3 separate regions of the Homo sapiens genome follow, and regions 1 and 3 are each linked to region 2. Evidence: promoter capture Hi-C in 16 types of primary human blood cells and fetal thymus (Javierre and others, 2016). All regions are on one chromosome and are shown on one strand. Each heading gives the region's core, a stretch centred on a gene start or on the middle of the fragment in contact. The rest is flanking DNA. Distances are from core to core; before and after follow the strand shown. Region 1 overlaps BAIAP2L1 (BAR/IMD domain containing adaptor protein 2 like 1). Region 2 holds the start of LMTK2 (lemur tyrosine kinase 2). Region 3 holds the start of LOC124901705 (a long non-coding RNA gene).

Region 1 (3,751 bases), core at 759-3,258, 190 kb before region 2:
CTGAACCCAGAAGTTCGAGGCTGCTGTGAACTGTGATCATACCACTGCATGCCAGCCTGGATGACAGAGACCCTGTCTCATAAAAAAAGAAAAATGGTTTACAGTGTAGTTGTTTGAATCTGGATCCAAATCAGCTCCATACATTATAATTGGTGGATAGGGCTCGTGAGGCCTTTTCTAGCTACAGGTCCCCCCTCTGCCTCTTGTCCTTAGCAGTCTCTTTGTAGAAGAACCAGTCATTTGTCCTGGAGGGTGTCCCCCATCTGGATTTTGCTGTTGGTGTCCTTTCTGCGTTCCCCCGTGTCTCCTGTATTTCTGTAAATTGGTAGTTAGACCTCAGGCCCTGCTCAGAGTCTGTTGCTGTTTTGCTTGTTTGACTGTTGTGTTTTGCTGGAGCATTTCACCAGTGAGGAGGCACGTGTGGACGTCCATCTCTTTTTGTGATGTTAGTAGCTGTTGATGTTCGCCTAGCCTGCTGCTTTATTGAGGTTGGATAATGCCTTTTAAGGTAAAAGAATCTTGCCCCCAAAAATCACAGCTCTGGCATTGTAAGTGAGAGCACTGACACTTTGGCCAACCCTGGATAGTCTTCAGTGTTAGAAAATGAAAACGTGTCATTGTCAGCGTATTTATCGTGTGGATAAAGCTTGGTGAAGAAAGTACTGTCGCCGCCATTCTTACTGCAGGGAATTGGATAAATGGAAGAAGCCTGGTTGTAAGTATCAGTGTACTCAGTAATGACAGATTCCTCCTTACTTAGCACTGGGGAGTGGAAAGGTGACCTGGCTTCATTCTTAAACCTCTTCGTTGGCTGGATCATGACATTCTGTCAGTGTCGGGAGACTGCCAGCGCACGGTGCACGCCTCTTACCGGCTTCCCACTTCCTCGGGCAGCAGAGCTTTAAGCACACCACTGTCCCCGAGGGCCCTGACCTGGAGGGTTGGGCTGAGCTGGGGCTGCCTGCAGGGGGTGACCTGGTGCCCTGCAGCCTCCACCAGCGCAGCTGGCCCATGTGGACACCACCACCACCCTTCCCACCTGAGCTGGTATTCTCAGCTCACACCCGCGAGCTTCAGGCTGTCCCCTCCACGGGAGAGATTCCCAGTCATCCAGTCCCCGGCTGCCTCCACAGGCCGCACCTGCCAAAGCTCACTTCCCCAAGACCACCCTCCCTCTAACCCCCACCACACACACAGACGCGCGTGTGCACACACACACACACCATCATCTTCAGGTTCCCCCTTTCTGTCTTGAAAGCTAGAAGGCTTGGCCGGGCACGGTGGCTCACGCCTGTAATCCCAGCACTTTGGGAGTCCGAAGTGGGCGGATCACGAGGTCAGGAGATCAAAACCATCCTGGCTAACACGGTGAAATCCCGTCTCCACTTAAAATATATATATATATATATACCAAAAAAAAAAAGCTAGAAGGCTTTCAGGCTTTCATTTTAGCAGCCTTTCATTTCTGGTTTCATCCAAGAACATTCAAAAGCCCCAGATACCTCATGAGAATGCCCTCCTTATGCGGATTCTAATCATTTCAGTTGTCATTGATTCTGCACGTGTTTGAGTGCTGACTGCTGATTAACTTCATGATCACTGAAATCGATGAGAAGGCCCATCCAGCACAGGGGTGGAGGTGACGCCCACAGGGAGGTCATGTTTATCACTGATGGCAGCTGAGATTTCCTGGGCCGCAGACCTCTGAGGCCAGCAGACTTCTGTCAACACAGTCACATGGCAGTGAGGGTATGGCTGTGGGGGAGGGGTTTTGTGGACAGAGATGAGACCGTCCCATCAGCATTCATCCAGCCGGCCTCTACTGGGCGGCCTAGAGCCAAGCCCTCAGGACACAAAGAGGAATGAGACCCACGCAGGGGTGGAGTCCAGGGAGCGCTCGATGCATGGGGTGAGGACAAGGGGAGAGGCCAGGGTTCCTGGGACGCATCAGGGGAGGCTTCTAGGAGGAAAGCGTCGGAGCCAGGCTCTGAGGCACGAGCTTCGGCAAAAACACAAGGCCTGGGCGTTGCGGTGACTTGGGGGGCTCAAGAGCTGGGGTCGGGCACCAGCCAGAGAGGCAGGATGAGCCTCCACACTGCTGCCTGGCTTCTGGCTGGCCTGCGAGGGGAGTGGTGCCGCCAGCCTGTGGTGCCCTCCTGTCTTTCGTACCTTCACACCCTTCGCACCTCACGGTGGTGCTTCCTGAGCAGTGCCTGTGCTGGGACCTCCTGGGGAGGTAGAGGGATAGCGGGGCCTCGTGAAATGGAGAAAGGGAGGCACAGAAGAATGGCAGCCGCTGTCCAAGGCCCACGGCAGGTTAGAAACCCAGTTCTGAAATCTCAGCCAGCAGCTTCTTGGCCTCCACATCAGTACGCTTTCCTGATAAGACATGGCGCGGTCATCTGCATGCTGTTATTCTAACATCCTATGCAGACTGCAAAAGCATTGCGGGGAGGGACTGCAACTGTCACCCGCATCCAGCCTCTGTAGACAGCACTCCTGTTAGACAAGTGACCACGTTTCATCCAGACCAATCCCAGTCAGGAGTTCCGGGAGCGCAGCTGTGGGAAACAGCCTACAGACGCATTGGTGCTGCTCCAAGGGCGGGAGCAGGGAGCAGGGGGAATGGCTGTGTGTTCTGGGCCTCCTGGCCTCACAGCCTCCTCACCAGCAGGGATCATGGATCAAGCATGTGTGTGTCAGAGACGAGCAGCACAGATGGAAATGTTCCCTGCCCAGTCCAGCAGCCACAGGGCACACAGGGCAGCAGAGCACTTGAAAAACGGATGGTGCAACGAAGGAACTAGACGTTTACATTTGTTTGTTTGTTTATTTATTTATTTATGAGACGGAGTCTTGCTCTGTCGCCCAGGCTGGAGTGCAGTGGCATGATCTTGGTTCACAGCAACCTCCACTTCCCGGGCTCAAGCAATTCTCCCGCCTCAGCCTCCTAAGTAGCTGGGACTACAGGTGCATGCCACCACACCCAGCTAATTTTTGTATTTTTAGTAGATACGGGGTTTCACCATGTTGGCCAGGCTGGTCTCGAACTCCTGATCTCAGGTGATCCTCCCGCCTCAGCCTCCCAAAGTGCTGGGAATATAGGCGTGAGTCACTGCGCCCGGCAAATTTTATTTTAAGTAGCCATATACAGCTAGTGGTTGCCACATTGGACAGTTAGGAATAGATCATACAAAATAGTACAGTGTTCCATTTAAAAACTTGCTCTAGCTGGGCACGGTGGCTCACACCTGTGATCCCTGCTACTTGGAAGGCCAAGGTGGTAGAATCACTTGAGCCCAGGAACTCAAGTCCAGCCTGAGCGACAGAGAAAGGACCCATCTCTCTCTATATATAAAAATAAGCTTGATCCATAACGTGGTGGTCAAGAAGCAGGTACCATGGCTGAGGCTCAAAAGATGGCAGCCTGCCGGGCACGGTGGCTCACACCTGTAATCCCAGCACTTTGGGAGGCCGAGGCGGGAGGATCATTTGAGCCTAGGAGTTCCAGATCAGCCTGGGCAATATAGTGGGACCTCGTCTATATAGAAAATTAACTAAAAAACCAGTCAGGCGTGGTGGCTCACACCTGTAATCCCAGCACCTTGGGAGGCCGAGGCAGGTGGATCACCTGATGTCAAGAGTTTGAGACCAGCCTGGCCAACATGGTGAAACCCTGTCTCTACTAAAAATACAAAAAAAATTAGCTGGGCATGGTGGCAGGCGCCTGTAATCCCAGCTACTCGGGAGG
Region 2 (3,607 bases), core at 786-3,285:
CAGAGCAAGACTCCGTCTCAAAAAAAAAAAAAAAAAAAAAGTGTGCAGGCAGACATAGGTTCCTATAAAGAATCGATACTTCAAAATATATAAAAATCCAATTAAGTGTAAAGTCATCTGGAAATTTCTTGAATCCCCATCATATAAATACTCTTTACCTACTACACTATACTAGTGCTAACTTTCAATATCAATATCTTTAAATATCAACATCACCATCCTTCCACATAATCTTTCATTATTTCCCAGGCATTTCCTGTGACTCTTTCCGGGGTTGCCTATACACATCTGATAACATTTACTCTTCTTATCTATCGGATCAGAAAACAGAATTCACCTCACAAGTATTTGATCTAAGGCAGTAACAGAAATTTAGTGCTACATTATACGGTACAATGAGGACATTTAACGTTCAACTAAAGGGCACTCAATGACAAACCCTGATGTAGCTCTGGAAGCAATTACATGTAGCTTTCATCGTAGATTTGTTTGAAAAATATGTCTTTACTGGAGACAGTACATCCACATTCTGTACCCAATTAACATTATTCCAAAATAACTCTTGACCTCGAGAGTATTCCAAAACAGTTACAAGACTTAAAAAAAATCATACAACTAGGGGTATCTAAGACCTGGCTTTGGGGCTCTGCCTACAACGAAGCTGTGTCACCCTGGGTAGGTCATTTGACCCAACATGCCCAGTATCTCCTACTACGTAAAGAAGAAATTGGTCTAAATTTTCTTTAAGGTCTCTTCTAACTCTAACATTCTATGAATGTATGAAATTTCAATCTTTCCCCATTTCAAAGGTAATGGCGGCAGTCAATAACGCCAAGTTAGCCTAGATTTTTTTTTCCTTTTTAGAAAAATGACCCAACTTGGGATGTTTTCTTGGGTTGAAGTTTTATTTAGGAAAATAAACCCCAAATAAAAACGATGTTGAGAAAATGGGCGGGGGGGGAGAAAAGAAAATCATACACTGACGTTAGCTAAAATAGAAACTTCCATCACCCTTAAGCCAGTTTGTCAATAGTTATTCAACGCCTGCTACTCTAATCACTGGCTTCCTAAAATAGAAATATTTATAGTTGTTTCCTTCTCATCCCCGGAGATACATTCCGAATAAAAAGCACAGCGTCTAAAATCAATTTACAACTTCAGAATAAGTTGCAAGGAGCGAAAACAAACTCCGCACAGCTCGCCAAGTCATTTGCATTTAAGTATGATTAGGGCTAAGAAACGGTTCTTATGAGATGCGAAAAAAAAGCACAAGAGGCAGGTGACATCTGGAAAGGGAAGCTGAACTGCCAGGAAGCGATATAAGCTGAGGATCTTAAGGCAACAGGTCCAGGGCCGGCACCGCAGCCTATCCCGGGAGGGGTCGGTGGCTGCTACCTCGCCCGCCGCCCTCCCCAGCCCCAACGACGTCGCCTCGCTCCCGCCCCCCCAAATCCCACGCCCCTGCGGCAGAAATCTCCCTAATCACTCGCCTCCCTGGGCTTCCCGCCCCCGGCAGGCCCTCCGATTCCTCGGCGCCGAGGCCGGCCCGGCCCTGCCGCCCCCTCCCCTCCACGCCGAAGACCCCGCAGCCCCGTCCCCGCCGCGGGCCCGCTCACCTGCACCTGTTTGCGGAAGTGGCGCGGCCCCAGCACTGCCGGCGATCAGGAGGACCAGCAGCAGCAGCAGCAGCCTCCGCCGCAACGCCGGCGGCCCCGGCATCTCGCCCACGGCGCGGCTCCGGGGCCGGCCCTCGAGTCGCCTTCCGTCCGTCCGTCCGTTCGCCCGTCAGTCGATCCTGCCTCCCTCCGCTGCCTCAGTGGCACCCGCGCCGGTTGCTCCCGAGCACACGTTGCTTCTGCCAAACCTCGGTCCGGCTCCCGGTCCGCACCTGCCGCTCCAGTCGCAGAAACACCATCCTTCCCGCCCGCCTGCGCCGCCGCCGCCGCCTCTCAACAGCAGCAACGCCAGCAGCCCTGCGGAGCGGCGGGCCTGGGAAGCCGCGCTCCCGCCGCCATGATGGGCTGCGTCATGTGACGTAGCGCGGGGGCGGGATGTCGTGATGGACAGGGCGGCCAGCCACTCGTCAGTCCACACCGGCCCAGGAGGCCCCGCCCATCATCCTGAAGGAGTGAGCGGTGGCGGCCGGTGCGCCCCCTGCAGACGGAGGAGTGCGTGGGCAGCAGGTAACACCAACAATTATTTTAAATTGAAAAATACAGGAAAATGTAAAGAAGACCATGACAATCATCCTGATATTTTTTTCTCGGTGTTTTATAACATGCAAAAATAGGCCTGTCTTGTCTTCTGCCTTTTTTTTTTTTTTACTTGTCAGAGCTGTTTTAGGCTCTTCTCCTTAAGTTGACCTACACATCCTCTCAGCCATCAAACAGCTTTGGGCTTTTCACTTGAATTGATCAAGAGAATGCCTCTCTCGGCATCACCCACTGACTCACCTCCTGAGCTCAAGCTGTTGCCTCTTGTCCACCTGGCAGACACTCTTCCTTTCATCTGTCGAGACTCACCTGACATATGACTTCATCTATGACTCTCTAGGAGAAATGACTGTCATCTCCTTAGTGCCCCGCCCTGGCCCTGTGTGGACTGCTATCCTAGCTGCAGTATCCTATTGACCCGTGACTGTAAGCTCCCTGAGGACAGCAACTGTGTCTGATTCAGCTGGTGGGAAATCCCTGGTGCAGGACCTGGGTCGGAGCAGGTGTTCTCTAAAGCAATGGTGCATGGCCCTGGTCCCAGGTACCAGGGCAGAGCAGCTCCCAGGGGTGGCCTTCTCCCCACCAAGAGGTGAGGTGAGAACACAGTCCTGCAGAGAGGATAGAGAAAGCACTCTCCAGACACAAGTAATATAGTGGTCAGAGGCATGGGGGTTGGGAAAATGCTAAGCTTTTCTGGAGAGGCGCTATGGTTCAGTGTGTGCATGAGAGGAGCTGATTTCAATCTTATCAGATGAGACTTTGCCACCTGGCAACAGTGTAACCTCCCCAATTCTCCAAACTCCCCAAATGTCCATCCTAAATGCCAGCTGTCGATGATGTTAACACAGCACTGGACACACAGATGATGCCCAGGGAATATTTGTTGGATGATTGAGGCAAGCCAATAAATATCTAAGGAGACAAATACCTGGAACGAGAAACATTGAATTTAAAAGTCCATGGCTTGGCTGGGCACGGTGGCTCACACCTGTAATCTCAGCACTTTGGGAGGCCAAGGTGGGTGAATCACTTCAGACCAGGAGTTCAAGACCAGCCTGGCCAACATGGTCATACCCCATCTCTACTAAAAATACAAAAAGTATTAGCCAGACACGGTGACGCATGCCTGTAATCCCAGCTGCTTGGGAGGCTGAGGCAGGAAAATTGCTCGAACCCAGGAGGCGGAGGTTGCGGTGAGCTGAGATCACACCGCTGCACTCCAGCCTGGGCGACACAGCGAGACTCTGTCTTAAAAAAAAAAAAGTTCACGGCTTTCTGCTGATTATATGCAGAATTGGTAAGGAAGGCAAAGGTCTAGGAAAGAGACACAATCACCCTGTTGTACTTCTACTTCTTTTTTTTTTTTCTTTGAGACAGAGTCTGTCTCTGTCACC
Region 3 (4,014 bases), core at 1,380-3,879, 160 kb before region 2:
TGGTGGCATGCACCTGTAGTCCCAGCTACTCAGGAAGCTGAGGCGGGAGGATCACCTGAGCCCAGGAGGTGGAGGCCGAAGTGAGCTATGATTGCACCAGCGCACTCCAGCCTGGGTGACAGAGCAAGACCCTGTTTCTAAATAAATAAATAAATGGAACTTCAAGGGAGAAAGCAGCAGCATGTCCCACTGCTCTCTTTTGTGTTGAGTACTGTGTTGTGATTCATACTTCCATATTCTGTCGTCACGATTAACCCCAGAGCCATGATGGACAGATATTATCAGCCCCGATTTAGAAATGAGGAAGGAGCTGGGCTGTTCATTGAGCAGGTCCCCTGAGCCCTTTGTGGGCCAGGACACTGCCTTATCTCTGTATCCACAATGCCTCAGACGTAGTAGGAGCTCACTAAATGTTTAATTGAACTCAAGGTCATGTGCCCACAATCATTTGACTGCTAAGCGGGGATTCAAACCTAGGTTCTCCCACCTCCAGACTCAAGCTCTGGTTCCTAGACCATAAAGGGCATCCTCTCTTCAGGCTAGAAATATGTCTGGATCATGACATAAGGCCATTCCTCATTTTAAAAAATCAAGAGCAGCCAGGTGCGGTGGCTCACTCCTGTAATCCCAGAACTTTGGGAAGCTGAGGCGGGAGGATCGCTTGAGCTCAGGAGTTCGAGACCAGCCTGGGCAACATAGCAAGACCCCATCTCTTTTTTTTTTTTTTTTTTGGAGATGGAGTCTCACTCTGTCGCCCAGGCTGGAGTGCAATGGTGCAACCTCGGCTCACTACACCTTGAACTCCGTCTCCTGGGTTCAAGCGATTCTCCTGCCTCAGCCTCCTGAGTAGCTGGGATTACAGGCACCCACCACCACGCTTGGCTAATTTCTGTATTTTTAGTAGAGATGGGGTTTCACCATGTTGGCCAGGCTGGTCTTGAACTCCTGACCTCAGGTAATCCAACTGCGTTGACCTACCAAAGTGCTGGGATTACAGGCGTGAGCCACCGAGCCTGGCCCCCATCTCTACTTTTAAAAATAAAGAAAAAAGAAAAATAAACTGAAGCCAGGCACGGTGGCTCATGCTTGTAATCCCAGCAATTTGGGATGCCGAGGTGGGCAGATCATGAGGTCAGGAGTTCCAGACCAGCCTGGCCAACACAGTGAAACCCCGTCTCTACTAAAAATACAAAAATTAGCTGGGCATGGTGGCAGACACCTGTAATCCCAGCTACTTGGGAGGCTGAGGCAGGAGAATCACTTGAACCCGGGAGGCGGAGGTTGCAGTGGGCTGAGATCACACCACTGCACTCCAGCCTGGACGATAGAGCTAGACTCTGTCTCCACAAATTAAAAAATTTTAAAAAATAAAATAGGCCGGGCACGGTGGCTCACGCCTGTAATCCCAGCACTTTGGGAGGCCGAGGCGGGCGAATCACAAGGTCAGGAGATCGAAACCATCCTGGCTAACATGGTGAAACCCCGTCTCTACTAAAAATACAAAAAATTAGCTGGGTTCGGTCGTGGGCGCCTGTAGTCCCAGCTACTCGAGAGGCTGAGGCAGGAGAATGGCGTGAACCTGGGAGGCAGAGCTTGCAGTGAGCAGAGACTGCGCCACTGCACTCCAGACTGGGCGACAGAGCAAGACTCCGTCTCATAAGTAAAATAAAATAAAATGAATAAAATAAAATAAAATATAAAATAAAATAAATAAAAAATAAATAAATAAAATAAAATAAATTGAGAGTGCCTAGATGGCAGGGAAGATGCCAGTGGAGATGACTGATGCTCTTTGGGATCTCACTCGATAGTTTTGGAGATTACAAGTGTCATTCAGGGAAAATGAGGCACCTCTGTGACTTTTCTATTCTCTATCAGATGACAATGAAAGTTATCCTGATTGTTGGCCAGGCGAGGTGGTTCACGCCTGTAATTCCATCACTTTGGGAGGCCGAGGCGGGTGGATCACCTGAGGTCAGGAGTTCAAGACCATCCTCGCCAACATGGTGAAACCCCGTCTCTACTAAAAATACAAATCTTAACTGGGTGTGGTGGTGCACACCTGCAATCCCAGCTGCTCAGGAGGCTGAGGCAGGAGAATTGCTTAAACCTGGGAGGTGGAGGTTGCAGTGAGCCAAGGTTGCGCAACTGTACTCCAGCCTGGATGACAGAATAAGACTCCATCTCAGAAAAAAAAAAAAAAAAAAGTTATCCAGACTGACAGAAGGTCTTTCCCTATGGGATCTGTTAGCTGTGGTTTAATTTATGATGGCATGTTCTCACTTATATGTGGGAGCTAAACGATGGGTACCCACAGACATACTGAGTGGCAGAATAGACATTGGAGACTGAAACAGGTGGGAGGGCAAGAGGGGGGTGAGGTCTGAAAATCACCTGTTGGGTACAATGTTCACGATTCTGGTGACAGGTGCACTGAAGGCACAGACTTCAGCACTATGCAATACCTGCATGTAAGGCATCTGTCCTTGTGGCTGGCTGGCTGCAGTGTCTCACGCCTGTAATCCCAGCATTTTGGGAGGCCAAGACAGGAGGATTGCTTGAGCCCAGGAGTTTGAGACCAGCCTGGGCAACACAGCAAGACCCCGTCTCTACAAAAAAAAATTTAAAAATTAGCCAGTCATGATGATGTGCACCTGTGTTCCCAGCTACGCAGGGTGCTGAGGTGTTTTAAGGCTGGGAGGTTGAGGCTGCCGTGATTTGTGATCGCGCCACTGCACTCCAGCCTGGGCAGCAGAGCGAGACTCCATCTCAAAAAAAAAAAAAGCCGGGCACGGTGGCTCATGCCTGTAATTCCCTCACTTTGGGAGCCAAGGTGGGCAGATCATTTGAGGTCAGGAGTTCAAGACCAGCCTGGCCAACATGGTAAACCCCATCTATACTAAAAATACAAAAACTAGCTGGGTGTGGTGGTACACACCTGTAATCCCAGCTACTTGTTAGACTGAAACAGGAGAATTGCTTGAACCCAGGAGGCGGAGATTGCAGTGAGCCGAGATCGCGCCACTGCACTCTAGCCTTGGGCAACAGAGCGAGACTCCGTTTCAAAAAAAAAAAAGAAAAAGAAAAAAGAAATCTGTACTTGAACCCCCTGAATACATAAACATTATAAAATTGAAATAATCTATGATGGTAGAGAGAATTGAAGTGGAATTTGAGGCAAACTTGTCCCCAGTCACCAGAGCTCTGAGTTTGGTGACAGGAGGCATCATCTTTGGTTAGGATGAAGCAGAAAAATGACCACTCCCAGGTTGAGATGGAGAGGTCACTTCCTTTGGTCAGTAAGGGAGCGGCTTTCAGGACTCACCCCCAAGCAATGATGTTTGGGGGGACCCTCTCAGGGCCTATAAGGATCTGGGTCTCCTCCTCTCCGTCATTATTCTATTTTGCCAGCAGTGCCCAGAACTCGGTTCTGCTTCAAGCCGCAGAGTGGAGGAGAAGGCACCGAGGCTTGGAGATGCTGTTTCATAGAGTCTTGGCTTTGCAGCACATGTGAGCTTGGGGGGCAGCAGTGGGGAGGGGTTCTCCAAAGAAGAGAGGCTGCCATGGGCGAAGAGACAGAGGGAAGGAGCCCCCAGGGCCTCCCGATGCCACTGTGGCAGGAGGGTCCCCTCTCCACTCCCCCATCCCTTCTCCCCAGCAGGTAGCCCCCATCCTCTCTCTGGCCCAGCCCACCCTCCACTGCCTCCCTGGTCTGTTCCGGGGGCTCCTACCTTCAGCTTGCACTGTGGAGGCCATGGCTGTTCTTGGGGACACGCCCAGGAATGATGCGGGGATGCCTCAGTACGGGGCAGCGGAAAGCCCCCTTAAACTCCAGCAGAAGCCAAGCAGTCACCGGTGGGCCAGCGACCGACATGAAGGAGGGACCGGACAGATGGCCAGGGGGAAGGAGCCATCGGGGGCGTTGGGAGGCCCGGGAGGAACTGGACAGAGCCAGGTCTCACCGGGGACAGAATGCGGCCTCACAATCCTGCCCCACCGCCAAGATTCTCAGGT

What was found. Contacts are between HindIII fragments. The CHiCAGO score rates a contact against its expected background, and 5 or more counts as called.
Region 1: a fragment that was not itself captured here is called in contact with the fragment with the promoter of LMTK2 in region 2 in 1 of 17 cell types (neutrophils); the score reaches 5.6 in neutrophils.
Region 3: a fragment that was not itself captured here is called in contact with the fragment with the promoter of LMTK2 in region 2 in 1 of 17 cell types (neutrophils); the score reaches 6.1 in neutrophils.

What each region holds. Positions count from the first base shown.
Region 1 is chr7:98,299,135-98,302,885 of GRCh38, reverse strand. All of the region lies in intron 12 of BAIAP2L1 (BAR/IMD domain containing adaptor protein 2 like 1), which reads left to right. It also overlaps a transcript of BRI3 not described here. Among named protein-coding and RNA genes, the nearest start is that of BRI3, 19 kb to the right of the region's middle. The HindIII fragment of the contact is 2,719 bases long and covers 649-3,367 here.
Region 2 is chr7:98,105,290-98,108,896 of GRCh38, reverse strand. LMTK2 (lemur tyrosine kinase 2) reads right to left here and starts at 2,035. Exons shown (of 14, transcript NM_014916.4): 1 at 1,617-2,035. The coding sequence starts at 1,719. The HindIII fragment of the contact is 4,003 bases long and covers 1-2,903 here.
Region 3 is chr7:98,270,353-98,274,366 of GRCh38, reverse strand. It overlaps LOC124901705 (a long non-coding RNA gene), which reads left to right and starts at 3,404. Exons shown (of 3, transcript XR_007060446.1): 1 at 3,404-3,510. The HindIII fragment of the contact is 5,981 bases long and covers 1-4,014 here.